2 separate regions of the Homo sapiens genome follow, and region 2 is linked to region 1. The links are contacts of gene promoters, found by promoter capture Hi-C in blood cells and fetal thymus (Javierre and others, 2016). All regions are on one chromosome and are shown on one strand. Each heading gives the region's core, a stretch centred on a gene start or on the middle of the fragment in contact. The rest is flanking DNA. Distances are from core to core; before and after follow the strand shown. Region 1 holds the start of NUDT19 (nudix hydrolase 19). Region 2 overlaps GPATCH1 (G-patch domain containing 1).

What was found. Contacts are between HindIII fragments. The CHiCAGO score rates a contact against its expected background, and 5 or more counts as called.
Region 2: a fragment that was not itself captured here is called in contact with the fragment with the promoter of NUDT19 in region 1 in 2 of 17 cell types (erythroblasts and megakaryocytes); the score reaches 7.6 in erythroblasts.

What each region holds. Positions count from the first base shown.
Region 1 is chr19:32,688,548-32,695,407 of GRCh38, reverse strand. NUDT19 (nudix hydrolase 19) reads right to left here and starts at 3,587. Exons shown (of 3, transcript NM_001105570.2): 1 at 2,734-3,587. The coding sequence starts at 3,447. NUDT19-DT (NUDT19 divergent transcript) reads left to right here and starts at 3,112. Exons shown (of 2, transcript NR_186320.1): 1 at 3,112-4,045. It overlaps LOC124904690 (a long non-coding RNA gene), which reads left to right. Exons shown (of 2, transcript XR_007067226.1): 2 at 1,314-2,443. RefSeq lists a silencer at 3,215-3,624. The HindIII fragment of the contact is 6,189 bases long and covers 1-3,759 here.
Region 2 is chr19:33,110,674-33,117,533 of GRCh38, reverse strand. GPATCH1 (G-patch domain containing 1) reads right to left here. Exons shown (of 20, transcript NM_018025.3): 12 at 5,632-5,810; 13 at 4,921-5,048; 14 at 3,631-3,767; 15 at 3,115-3,281. Among named protein-coding and RNA genes, the nearest start is that of WDR88, 18 kb to the left of the region's middle. The HindIII fragment of the contact is 1,130 bases long and covers 3,834-4,963 here.

The sequences.
Region 1 (6,860 bases), core at 2,338-4,837:
AGGAGTTTGAGACCAACTTGGCCAACATGGTGAAACCCCGTCTCTACTAAAAATACAAAAATTAGCCAGGTGTGGTGGCGGGCGCCTGTAATTCCAGCTACTCCAGAGGCTGAGGCAGGAGAATTGCTTGAACCCGGGAAGCAGAGGTTGCGGTGAGCCTAGATCATGCCACTGCACTCCAGCCTGGGTGACAGGGCAAGACTCCATCTCCAAAAAAATAAAAATGAAAAATAAAACCTACAATTGATAATTGAAGGTCTTCTCTGTAACCCTGTAACACTCCAATACCACCTTGTTGTCAGTGTAAACAAGGGCATAGCCCAAAAGCACTGAGGCCACTGACAACCTGTAGCCTTCCTATCAAAAATCCTTAACCCAGCAGGTTCCTAACAGGGGATCTAAATCTGAAGGTCTGACCAGACATAGGAGGAACCCCCTTCAGGACAGGATGATAGATGTTTCCTCCTGGGCGATTAAGGAAAAAGACACAATGGGTACTCAGTACGTGATAAGGAAACTCTTACAGAAGCAGAGTTAGGAAAATTGCCTAATAATTGGTCTGCTCAAATGTGCAAGCTGTTTGCACTCAGCCAAACCTTAAAGTACTTACAGAATCAGGAAGGAGCCATCTATACCAATTTTAAGTGAATATGGACTGAACGAGGTCTTATTAATAGCAAAGAATAATTGAAATCCCAAACTTAAGGTTTTCAACAAAAGTAAAGTTTGCTAAAAGTTAACAGTGTAACACATATTATCCTAACTTCTAATCTTATGGACATCAGACCCTATCAGTGCCCCTCAAAGCTCAAGTCCATCAGCACAGGGCCATACAACTGATACCCCTACTTATAGGGCTAGAAATGGCCACTGCTACAGGAACCGGAATAGCCAGTTTATCTACTTCATTATCTTACTACCACACACTCTCAAAGTATTTCTCAGACAGTTTGCAAGAAATAACAAAATCTATTCAGTAAGGATAGTAACTACAATCCCAAATAGACTCTGGCAGCAGTGACTCTCCAAAACCCCCGAGGCCTAGACCTCCTCACTGCTGAGAAAGGAGGACTTTGCACCTTAGGGGAAGAGTGTTGTTTTTACACTAACAAGTCAGGGATAGTGCAAGATGCCGCCCGGCATTTACAGGAAAAGGTTTCTGAAATCAGACAACGCCTTTCAAACTCTTATACCAACCTCTGGAGTTGGGCAACATGGCTTCTCCCCTTTCTACATCCTGTGACAGCCGTTTTACTATTACTCGCCTTCGGGCCCTGTATTTTTAACCTCCTTGTCAAATTTGTTTCCTCTAGAATCAAGGCCATCAAACTACAGATGGTCTTACAAACGGAAACCCAAATGAGCTCAACTAACAACTTCTACCGAGGACCCCTGGACCGACCCACTGGCCCTTTCACTGGCCTAGAGAGTTCCCCTCTGGAGGACACTACAACTGCAGGGCCCCTTCTTTGCCCCTGTCCAGCAGGAAGTAGCTAGAGCAGTCATTGCCCAATTCCCAACAGCAGATGGGGTGCCCTGTTTAGAGGCGGGATTGAGAGGTGAAGCCCCTGGACTTCCTGGGTCCAGTGGGGACTTGGAGAACTTTTCTGTCTAGCTAAAGATTTGTAAATGCACCAATCAGCACTCTGTAAAAACGCACCAATCAGTGCTCTGTGTCTAGCTAAAGGTTTGTAAATGCACCAATCAGTACTATGTAAAAACGCACCAATCAGTGCTCTGTCTAGCTAAAGATTTGTAAACGCACCAATCCGCACTCTGTAAAAATGGACCAATCAGCACTCTGCAAAATGGACCAATCAGCAGGACATGGGCAGGGCCAAATAAGGGAATAAAAGCTGGCCACCCAGCCACCAGCACCCAACCTGCTCTGATCCCCTTCCGCTGTGGGAGGTTTGTTCTTTTGCTCTTTGCAATAAATCTTGCTGCTGCTCACTCCTTGGGTCCGCACTACCTTTATAAGCTGTAACACTGACCACAAATGTCTGCAGCTTCGCTCCTGAAGCCAGCGAGACCACAAACCCACCAAGAGGAACAAACAACTCCTGACGCACCACCTTTAAGAGCTGTAACACTCACTGCGAAGGTCTGCGGCTTCAATCCTGAAGTCAGCGAGACCACGAACCTACCAGAAGGAAGAAACTCCAGACACATCTGAACATCTGAAGGAAGAAACTGGACACACCATCTTTAAGAACTGTAACACTCACTTCGAGGGTCCGCGGCTTTATTCTTAAAGTCAGCGAGACCAAGAACCCACTGGAAGGAACCAATTCTGGACACACCAGGAGCTGGAGACGAGCCTGGGTGTGCAACACAGAGAGACAAGACCCCCATCTGTACCAAAAATAAATAAAAATAGGAAGACTGGATCATATTAAGTCTGTTCTCCAAGAAAACCAAATTAAACGGCTGTGGAGATGTACTATGTCTACACATGTACAAGTGCTTACACAGTGGCCACGCTGGAGGAACCACGTGGAGAGACAGGCTCCAGGCCTTGAGACCCCAAAGCCTAGGAAAGCAGAGAGCACTTCACCAAGAGCATGGCTTTGGTCTACAGGGGTGAGAGTTTCCAGCCCGTCTAAGCGTTCCTTGCTGCTTAATCTCTCTGGGCTTGGCCTATGCGGGGGTCCCTTGGGGGCCTGGGCCGCTGGGAGGGGTCCTCCCTCTCACGTCCTGGCGGTCCGCAGCAAGGCCCTGAGCAGGCCTTACCTGGTAGCCCACCACCTCCGCCAAGTCGGGGTAGACGGGCGGCGGCTCGCGCAGGCAGCACAGGAAGAAGGCCGTGTCAAAGCGGCGAGTGGTGCCCCGCAAGAAAGGGGTGAGCCAGGCGCTCCAGTTGTGCAGCGCCCAGATGTCGGGTGTGCAGTCGAGGTGGGCGCACAGCCGCAGGAAGTGGCGCGGGTCCTGGCGCACGCGGTCGCGCCAGGAGGCCAGGCCCGGCGGTGGCTCCAGGGCGAGGCCAGGCCCGGGTGCTGGGCCTGGTGGGGAAGTCCTGGGCCGCAGCAGCAGCACGCCCGCCTCCTCAAAGGCCTCCCGCACGGCGCAGATGCGGAAGGCTACGTCCTCAGGCAGCGTCCCAGTGTTGTCGGTCTTGTGGTCATCGGTGTCGGGCAGCGACGGGAAAGCGGTGCGGCTGAATGGCGCCGGGCCCAGGCCGAAGCGCGGCGGCCCGTGGTGCGGCGCGAAGAGGCCCAGCCAGTCCGCCGAGCGGTCGGCCGCATCCAGCACTCCGCCGGAGAAGACGTGCGCGCCCGGCATGAAGCCTTGGTGCGGGGAGCGCTGCAGCAGCAGCAGCCGGAAGCCCTCGGCCGGCGGCGGGCGCGACGGCGGGGTGGCGGTCTCCGGGCGCGACCAGCCAGCCGCCAGGACGATGCTGGCCGCCCGCCGCCAGCGGCTGGGGCCCGGCCGCAGGGAGCTGCTCATGGCGCGCAGCTTCCCGGATCCGATTCTGGCGCGGCCTGAGCTCCACGGCAGGTGGCCCGGCCCTGCAGGGACCCCAGCACCTCCGGGGGCCTCGCGGGAATTGAGGACGAGCCTCTGGCGTTGGGTGAACCTGGGCGTTTGGTCGGCAACGGCGCCTGCCTGTGGGAGGGGCACCCGAGCAGGGACCGCCTCGAGTGCACTGGGGCCCAGCTAGGGCACTCTCGCGGGACAATGGGTGTCACGGCAGCCAGCGACCGTTTGTCATTCACAGCTGCCTGAAAGGAGGACCGCAGTATTCCCACGCAGGAAGCTTGGACCAAAAGCAGGAATGCTTAAGGGCGCATATGACTTGCCATGGTAAAAAACAGGATGCCAACCCAGGCCTGATGACATCCACCTCACTAAAAGCTAAGGACTAGGACTTTCTGCTTTAAACAAGGACCCACATGTGGGTGTTTTCTGTGGGAGAGGGAGAGAGGACATTCGAAGGGCAGAAGTCTGACCTTTGCAAGCACACGTGAACCACACCAATGAGAAATGAATGGACGAGCCAGATGCCAATTTATAAATTTCCTACTGCACACCTTGAATGTGAAAGGTACTCCCAGAGTAATTTCTCTCGTGTTCTGGTTACCTTTTATTGTCAGGGCGCCTGGGGACGGCCTTAGGTGTCTTAGGACATTTGACGAGTTCCACTTTGATGGGAGATGTTTAATCTGGGCCTCCACATGGAGATTTCTCTCCACCTTGTTAGTGTCTAGAAGACTTCCACCTCCAATAGCAGGATTATGATCTTTTGAAAAGCCTGTGTAAATTTGAGTCTTTTCTTTTATAACTCCTTATCAGTCACCGACAGCTTTTCCCATAATTGCTATTATAATTGGATCACACATTTGTTATGTTTTTGGATGAAATACACTATACCCCTGCCGACCCTCACAAACCATCATTTTAATGTGGGTTATTTCCTGGGTAGAATCCACAGATGACATTGTCAATATTTAGGGGTTTTGTTTGTTTTTTTGTTTGAAGAGACCTGGTCTCTGGCCAGGCGCTGTGGCTTACACCTGTAATCCCAGCACTTTGGGAGGCCGAGGTGGTCGGATCACCTGAGGCCAGGACTTCAAGACCAGCATGGCCAACATGGCAAAACCCCGCCTCTACTAAAAATACAAAAATTAGCTGGGTGTGGCGGCCCGCGCCTATAGTTGCAGCTACTCAGGAGGCTGAGGCAGGAGAATCACTTGAATCTGGGTGGAGGTTGCTGTGAGCCAAGATCCTGCCACTGCATTCCGGCATGGGTGACAGAGCGAGACTCTGTCTCAAAAAAATAAATAAATAAATAAAATAAAAATACAGAGCAATGGAGAGAAAGGCACTCAGGTGATTAAAGTAACATGTCTTCAATACTAGGAGTAATAATAATCCTAGGGGATAATAATATTAGTAGTTACTGGGTACAGTGTGTGAGGCACTAGGAACTTTATTAGTATTAGTTGTGTAATTCTTACAAAACCCCATGAAGTGGAAACAGTTACCACTATTTTACAGATGACTAACCATTTATGGAGGGATTAAGGGTCTTAAGAACATACTACTCCCTTTGCTGTAAAATAACACCGTGGTTTTGTAGGTGAATGTGTGTGTTTCAACATCAGCTGGTTTTCACAGAAGCTGGTTACTCATGAGTGAGATGACCAAGTCCTGGTCCTGGGTGCATAGCAAAACAACAGAAACTGAACCTTTTTTTTTTTTGAGAGGGAGTCTGGCGCTCTCACCAGGCTGGAGTGCAGTGGTGCGATCTCGGCTTACTGCAATATCTGCCTCTCGGGTTCAAGCAATTCTCCTGCCTCAGCCTCTGGAGTAGCTGGGATTGCAGGCGCATGCTACTACGCCTGACTAATTTTTGTATTTTTAGCAGAGACAAGGTTTCATCATGTTGGTGAGGCTGGTCTCTAACGCCTGACCTCAAGTGATCTGCCTACCTCAGCCTCCCAAAGTGCTGGGATTACAGGTGTGAGCCACCACACCTGGCAGAAACTGGACCTTAACCAACACAGAACAGTGTCCAAAATGTGCACACTGCCATGACTGTCATATTTGGGGCACTGAGATGACACAATTACAGTTTATGGATTCAGAGATCATGTCATATAAACTCAGTTATCTGAACTGTAGCCAAGAAATGATACAGAAGCAAAGAACTATCCATGAGCATTCAAAGAGATACAGATATCATATTCATATCTAAAGTGCTCTGCTCACAGGATAATTTGTGGATATGTTATTTACCTAATGCTGTTAACAAATTAGTCAAAAACTTGGTGGATTAAATCAATAAACACTTATTGTCCAGGCATGGTGGGTAATGTCTGTAACCCTAACACTTAGGGAGGGCGAGGCGGGAGGATAACTTGAGGCCAGGAATTCAAGACCAGCCTGGGAAACACAGTGAGACCCCTCCTCTTAAAAGAAAATTAGTGGGGAGGTGCAGTGGCTCACGCCTATAATCACAGCACTTTGGGAGGCCAAGGTGGGCGGATCACAGGTCAGGAGATCGAGACCATCCTGGCTAACACGGTGAAACCCCATCTCTACTAAAAATACAAAAAATTAGCCGGGTGTGGTGGCAGGCGCCTGTAGTCCCAGCTACTCAGGAGGCTGAGGCAGGAGAATGGCAAGAACCCGGGAGGCAGAGCTTGCAGTGAGCTGAGATTGCGCCACTGCACTCCAGCCTGGGTGACAGAGTGAGACTCCGTCTCAAAAAAAAAAAAAAGAAAAAGAAAATTAGCTGGGTGTGGTATCACATGCCTGTAGTCCCAGCTACTCAAGAGGCTGAGATGGGAGGATCGCTTGGGCCCAGGAGTTGGAGGCTGCAGTGAGCCATGATCACGCCACTGCACTCCGACCTGGGTGACAGAGCAAGACTCTGCCTCAAAAGAAAAAAAAAGATGGGGCACAGTGGCTCACACCTGTAATCCCAGCACTTTGGGAGGCCGAGGTGGGTGGATCACCTGAGGTCACAAGTTTGAGGCCAGCCTGGCCAACATGGTGAGACCCCGTCTCTACTAAAAATACAAAAAATAAAAATAAAAATTAGCTGGGTGTGGTCGTGGGCACCTGTAATCCCAGCTACTCGGGAGGCTGAGGCAGGAGAATCGCTTGAACCCGGGAGGCAGAGGTTGCAGTGAGCTGAGATAGTGCTACTGCACTGCAGCCTAGGTGAGAGAGCAAGACTCTGTTTCAAAATCAAAAGCAAAACAAAACAAAAAAAACAAGAAAAACAAACAAAAAACAATGGACATTGATTATCCCACCTTTTCTGTTGATCAGGGATTAGGGACCACCTCCATGTGGTGATCCTAACTCAGTATCTCCCATGAGGCTGTGATCAGCATGTCAGCCAGGGCTTG
Region 2 (6,860 bases), core at 3,149-5,648, 420 kb before region 1:
TCACAAGGTCAGGAGATCGAGACCATCCTGGCCAAAATGGTGAAACCCTGTCTCTACTAAAAGTACAAAAATTAGCTGGGCATGGTGGTGGGCGTCTGTAATCCCAGCTACTAGGATCCCCAAAAATGCAGTAGAGCACTGTGCCTCTGTTCTATTTCCAAACTCAGATTCAGGCAACTTAACAAACCCCAAACAAAATAAACTCAAAAGAATTCACACCCAGATACATCATAATCAAACCGCTAAAATCCAAAGACCAAGTAAAAATCTTGAAAGCAGCTAGGAGAAAAATCACATCATTATGTACAGAGGAATAATAATTTGTTTTGGGGTTTTTTGAGCCAGGGTCTCACTCTGTCACCCAGGCTGGAAAGCAATGGTGCGATCATAGCACACTGCAGTGTTGACCTCCTGGGCTCAAGTGATCCTCCAACCGTAGCCCCTTGAGTAGCTGGGACCACAGGTGCATGCCACCACACCCAACTAGTTTTTTAATTTTTTGTAAAAGATGGGGTCTCACGATGTTGCCCAGGGTAGTCTCAAACTCCTAGCCTCAAACAAGCCCCCTGCCTCAGCCTCCCAAAGTGCTGGGATTATAGATGTGAGCCAACACACCCAGCCTGAGGACAATTTGAATGGTTGAAGATTTCTCATCAGAAATCACGAAACCCCGGAGGAAGTAGCAGTTTAATTTAAAAAAAAATTGGCCATGCGCAGTGGCTCACGCCTGTAATCCCAGCACTTTGGGAGGCCGAGGCGGGTGGATCACGAGGTCAGGAGATCGAGACCATCCTGGCTAACACAGTAAAACCCCGTCTCTACTAAAAATACAAAAAATTAGCCAGGCGTGGTGGCGGGCGCCTGTAGTCCCAGCTACTCGGGAGGCTGAGGCAGGAGAATGGCGTGAACCTGGGAGGTGGAGCTTGCAGTGAGCTGAGATCGCGCCACTGCCCTCCAGCCTGGGTGACAGAGCGAGACTCCGTCTCAAAAAACAAACAAACAAAACAAAACAAAAATTATCAACCCAGAATTCTATATCCAGCAAAAACATCCTTCAGGAATGAAGACAAAATATAAGACATTCTCAGATAATGGCAATTTAAGAGAATCACTTGTTGGAACTGGTCTAAAAGAAATGCTAAAGGAAGTTCCTCAGACAGAAATGATAGGTGAGGGGAACGTGGAACTTCAAGGATGAAGAAAGAGCAACAGAAATAGAAAATATCTGATTAAACAGAGTAGGCTATTGTCTCTGCATCGGTTCTTTTAAAATATGTTTAATGACTAAAAGCAAAAATGATCACCACTGGTTTGATGGCATTTTCATTGTGTGTACATGTAATATGTAAGACAGCATAGAGGGAGGAGAGTAAAAGGACCTACATAGTGCTAAAGCTTCTCTATTCTACTGGAAGTGGTAAAACATTTAATTCTCAGTAGACTGTAAAAAGGTAAGTAGGTATACTATAATCCCTAGAGCAATCACTAAAAAAAAAATACCAAGAGAAAAAAAATAGAAAAATTCAAATGGAATATAAAAATTATTCAAGTAATCCAAAAGAAGGCAGAGAAGGGGAAAAAAAGAAACAAAAAAGAGTGGTAATAAACAGAAAATATAACATCATACACGTAAATCCAAAAATATCCATGATCACATTAAATGCAAATGTCCAATATAAATTATCAAAATGTATTTTAAGAAAGACTCAGTGACACGGTGTTTATAAGAAACCCACTTTAGCCAGGCGCGGTGGCTTATGCCTGTAATCCCAGCACTTTGGGGAGGCTGAGGCGGGCAGATCACCTAAGGTCAAGAGTTTAAGACCAGCCTGACCAACATGGAGAAACCCCGTCTCTACTAAAAATACAAAATTAGCCAGGCATGGTGGTGCCTGCCTGTAATCCCAGCTACTCAGGAGGCTGAGGCAGGGGAATTGCTTGAACCCGGGAGGCAGAGGTTGCGGTGAGCCGAGACAGTGCCATTGTACTCCAGCCTGGGCAAGAAGAGTAAAACTTCATCTCAAAAAAAAAAAAAGAAACCCACTTTAAATATAATGAAACAGATGTGTTAAAAAGAAGATGAAAAAGATATATACTACGCAAACACTAAAGAAAATTACCAGGGATAAAGATGATATTACATAATGTTAAAAGGGTCAACTGGGCATGGTGGCTCACGCCTGTAATCCCAGCACTTTGGGAGGCCAGGGCAGGAGGACTGCTTGAGAGCAGAAGTTTGAGACCAACCTGGAAAAACATAGCAAGGCCCTTTCTCTGAAAAAAAAAAAAAAAAAAAAAAAAAAAAAAATTAGCCAGGCATGGTGGTGTGTGCCCGCAGTCCCAACTACTCAGGAGGCTGAGGCAGGATTGCTTGAACCTGGGCGTTCGAGCCTGCAGTGAGCCATTATCACAACACTGCACTCCAGCCTGGGCACAGAGTAAAAGCCGGTGTCAGAGAAAAAAAAAAAAAGATCAATTCACTGAAAAGAAATAGCAATCCCAGTTCAAGACCAGCCTGGCCAACATGGTGAAACCCCATCTCTACTAAACATACAAAAATTAGCCAGGCATGGTGGTGCGCACCTGTAGTCCCATCTACTTGGGAAGCTGAGGCAGGAGAATCACTTGAACCCGGGAGGGGAGGCAGAGCTTGCAGTGAGCCGAAATCATGCCACTGCACTCCAGCCTGGGGGACAGACCAAGACTCCATCTCAAAAAAAAAAAAAAAAAAAAAAAGAGAGAAATAGCAATCCTAAATGTATATACACCTAAGAAGTGCACTTCAAAATACATAAGGCAAAAATAACTTTGGAATACAGTTTGACAGCTTCTTATAAAGTTAAATATACATGTACATATTTTCCAGGATTCCCACTACTAGGTTTGTACTCTACAGAAATGAAAACTTATATTCACACAAAAACTTGCACATGAATGCTCCCAGCAGCTTTACTTGTTATAGCCAAAAGTTAGAAACAAGCCAAATGGCCTTTAAGGGGAAATGGATCAATAGTTGGCTGCCTCTGCTGGTGAGTCACGAGGAGAAAGTGTCACCAAAGAGAAAAGCAAGGGCCACACTCAGCGTGGCAAAGAGAATCTGGAAGCCCCAAATACCTGATTTGCGGATAATTCTGGTGCATGCTCTTCCTCTTTGTTTACTAAGGGGCTGGACTGTTGTTTAGGTGGCTCGGCTTTTGATCTAGCCAAACTTAAAAATTCACTAATGGAATCTTCTTTCTTTTCGTGTTTAGAGGTATCCCATCTGGATGGTTTTCTTGATTCTGAAAGGCAGGACATAGATATAAACTCCAGCATTAGCAAGGAAAAGGCCAGTTCTTCACCACTGCTCTTTCATTCACTCAGAATGTCAGCGTGCCTACTAGGGGCCTGGCACTGTGTAGGGTCCTGGGGAGGTAGGTGGCAGAGGCAGAGACAGAGCCCCAACCCCAAAGAGTAAACATCTGGACCATTACAACATGAGCTAAGTTATTAGTAAGAGTAATTCCCTCAATGGAGGGAGAATATGCACCATTCACATTGTTAGGACTAAACTACCCTTTAATTCTGTCTTCCTACAGGCTAGGGGTTGAGGCCCTGGTCAATCAGAGACCCCGGGGACGCCCTACTCACTGTCGGGACCTCGGTGCTGTGATACTTTTTCACTTGATGCTTGAGTGGTGGGCAAGGAAGCTGTCTCTGGGAGCGTCAGAAAGTTGAAGACTGAGTACTTGTCACGCTTCACTCTTGGTAAGCCAACTAAAGTTGAACTGGGAATTGAAAAAAGAATCATTTTAGTAACAACCAGTAGGACAAAATCCACCTCCTGAAAAGCTTTCCATCTCAAGTTTTCCACCTCTTCTGCATGACTAAAAAGTCTCCTAAGATGCTTTCACTTCTCAAAGCAGTTCGAGAATCTGGGTGACTGATTTTAGGTCCCATGAGATTTTCCTTATTATGATAAGGACAAGAATTTAACTTTCAAAATGGATTTCCATTAAGGAAAAGCTCCACTGATAAAAATATACCTAAAGTTTCTGACAGTCTCTGGTTTGACCACATATGCTATCTTTTTGTTTTGTTTTTTTTTCTCTTGAGATTGAGTCTCGCCTTGTCACCCAGGCTAGAGTGCAATGGCACAATCTTGGCTCACTGCAACCTCCGCCTCCCAGGTTCAAGCAATTCTCCTGCATCAGCCTCCCAAATAGCTGGGACTATAGGCACGCACCACCACGCCCAGCTAATTTTTTGTATTTTTAGTAGAGACGGGGTTTCACCATGTTGGTCAGGCTGGTCTTGAACTCCTGACCTCAAGTGATCTGCCTGCCTCAGTCTCCCAAAATACAGGGATTACAGGCGTGAGCCATTGCACCCGGCCTACTATCTTGAAGTGTTCTGTTTGTTTGTTTGTTTGTTTGATTTTTTAGAGATGGGGTCTTACTATGTTACCCGGGCTGGCCTCGAACTCCTGGGCTCAAGCGATCCTCCTGCCTTGGCCTCCCAAGCTAGGATTACAAGTGTGCACCACCACACCCCACCTCTTGAAGTGTTATTAATCAAATAAGAAAGTGTTTAACTTTTATAATGATAATTTAAAAACATAAGTAACATTATAAATGTAAACCACATGAGCAGCAACAAGAAGGTGGCAAATGAGAGAGGCATAATGCTTTTGTAACTTGACATATCTGAGTTTCATAGCTTCAATATGGAATAAAGTTTGCTATCCAGATTTTGTTTTAGTAACAAATTATAGAAGTAATTTATCAAAGCAAATCTATAAAATGTGTAGATTTGTATATCCAGTGATATGCAAATAAGTTCATGTAGAAAAAATAAGAATTTATATGAGTATGTAAGGGGAAAATTAGCTTTAATATCAAGAATACATTTTGTACTGATGTAAAGGTTTATCCAACTTACTCTGGATAAGGGTCAGGGACATTAAATCTCTTACATAGAAGCTTGTCAGGGTGCCACTCAAACGTGTCTCGGGTGAGCTTCCCAAACATCTTCATCTTCACAGCCGACTGCTTATCCCCGACATCATTCTGGAAAAAGACATGCATTCTGTTCCATCAAGTGGCCGCACCACTGACCTGACTGCTCTCCCATTTAAAATTTTCAAGCAATCTTCTAGAACTGTGAAAAAAGTTTGTGCTATAACATTTATGCTCCAGTACATTGGAAACTAAGGCATAAAATGGTTTCCTATTCTCCTATACATGTATATTTTGATCTTCTCACCAAGGGATTAAAAATATTTGGCTCGGCCGGGCATGGTGGCTCATGCCTGTAATCCTAGTACTTTGAGAGGCCGAGGCGGGTGGATCACCTGAGGTCAGGAGTTCAAGACCAGCCTGGCCAATATGGTGAAACCCCATCTCTACTAAAAATACAAAAATTAGATGGCTGTTGTGGCGAGCGCCTGTAATCCCAGCTACTTGGAAGGCTGAGGCAGGAGAATCGCTTGAACCCAGGAAGCGGAGGCTGCAGTGAGCCGAGATCACACCACTGCACTCTAGCCTGGGCGACAGAGAGAGACTCCGTCTCAAAAAAAAGGAAAAAACTATTTTGGCTAGGCAGTGCTTTAATATTAAAGTTCACCAGGTAAGGGACATGGTGACAACAGACCTCTTGGTCTCGAGGGACTTCAACCTGATCTGAGTCATCCTCCTCCTTGGCGTGAGTGAACCTGGAGGACAAGGTCGAATGGGAAGATGCGTACAGCAGGGCCGCCCGGGCAAACTCATCCCGCTCACGGCCTCGCTCCCACTCTGTCATGCTGGGGTCCAGACAGCGTTCCAGAGCATCTGCGGGGGCAGAGAACAAGAAGCAGCTTCACTTTTCAGGAAAACATGGGGCTTACAAGAGAACATCTGCTGGGCACCACTGTATCCCTGTATATTTCATAAGTCCTTATCCTTGTTTTTATGACTATGGGAATGGTGAGGTATTTGGCAGGTAATATTGCTGTTTCCTTCAAAATTGTGCTTTTTTAAAAAAAATTTAGGCCAGGCGCAGTTGTTCATGCCTGTAATCCCAGCACTTTGGGAGGCCGAGGCGGGTGGGTCACTTGAGGTCAGGAGTTCGGGACCAGCCTGGCAAACATGGTGAAACCCCATCTCTCTTTTTTTTTTTTTTTTTTTTTCTGAGATGGAGTCTCACTCTGTCTCCCAGGCTGGAGTGCAGTGGCATGATCTCTGCTTACTGCAAGCTCCGCCTCCCACGTTCACACCATTCTCCTGCCTCAGTCTCCCGAGTAGCTGGGACTACAGGCGTCCGCCACCATGCCCGGCTAATTTTTTGTATTTTTAGTAGAGACGGGAAACAAAAAATTACCAGGCGTGGTGGCACATACCTATAGTCCCAGCTGCTCAGAAGGCTGAGGCAGGATAATCACTTGAACCTGGGAGGTGGAGGTTGCAGTGAGCTGAGATTGCAGTGAGCCAAGATCCTGACACTGCACTCCAGCCTGGGCAACAGAGCAAGACTCCGTTCAAAAAAATAAATAAAATATGATGTGTGTATATATATATATAATATATTTTATATATACATATATATCTTTTTTTTTTTGGTAGAGGCAGGATCTCACTATGTTGCCCAGGCTGGTCTTGAACTCCTAGGCTAAAGCGATCCTCATCTCAGCCTCCCAAAGTACTTGGATTACAGGCATGAGCCACCATCCCCAGCCAAAATGATGCTTTTATTGAATTCTGTCTACCAAACATAACAGAGAAAACCATTTGAGAGGCTAATGGTTGGTTAAATCTTCAGCAGTAAGGAACTTGTCACCACTCCCAGGCAGTGATAAGTTCACCTCAACCACATCCCTATGTTTTGGCAGAAAAACACTCTTT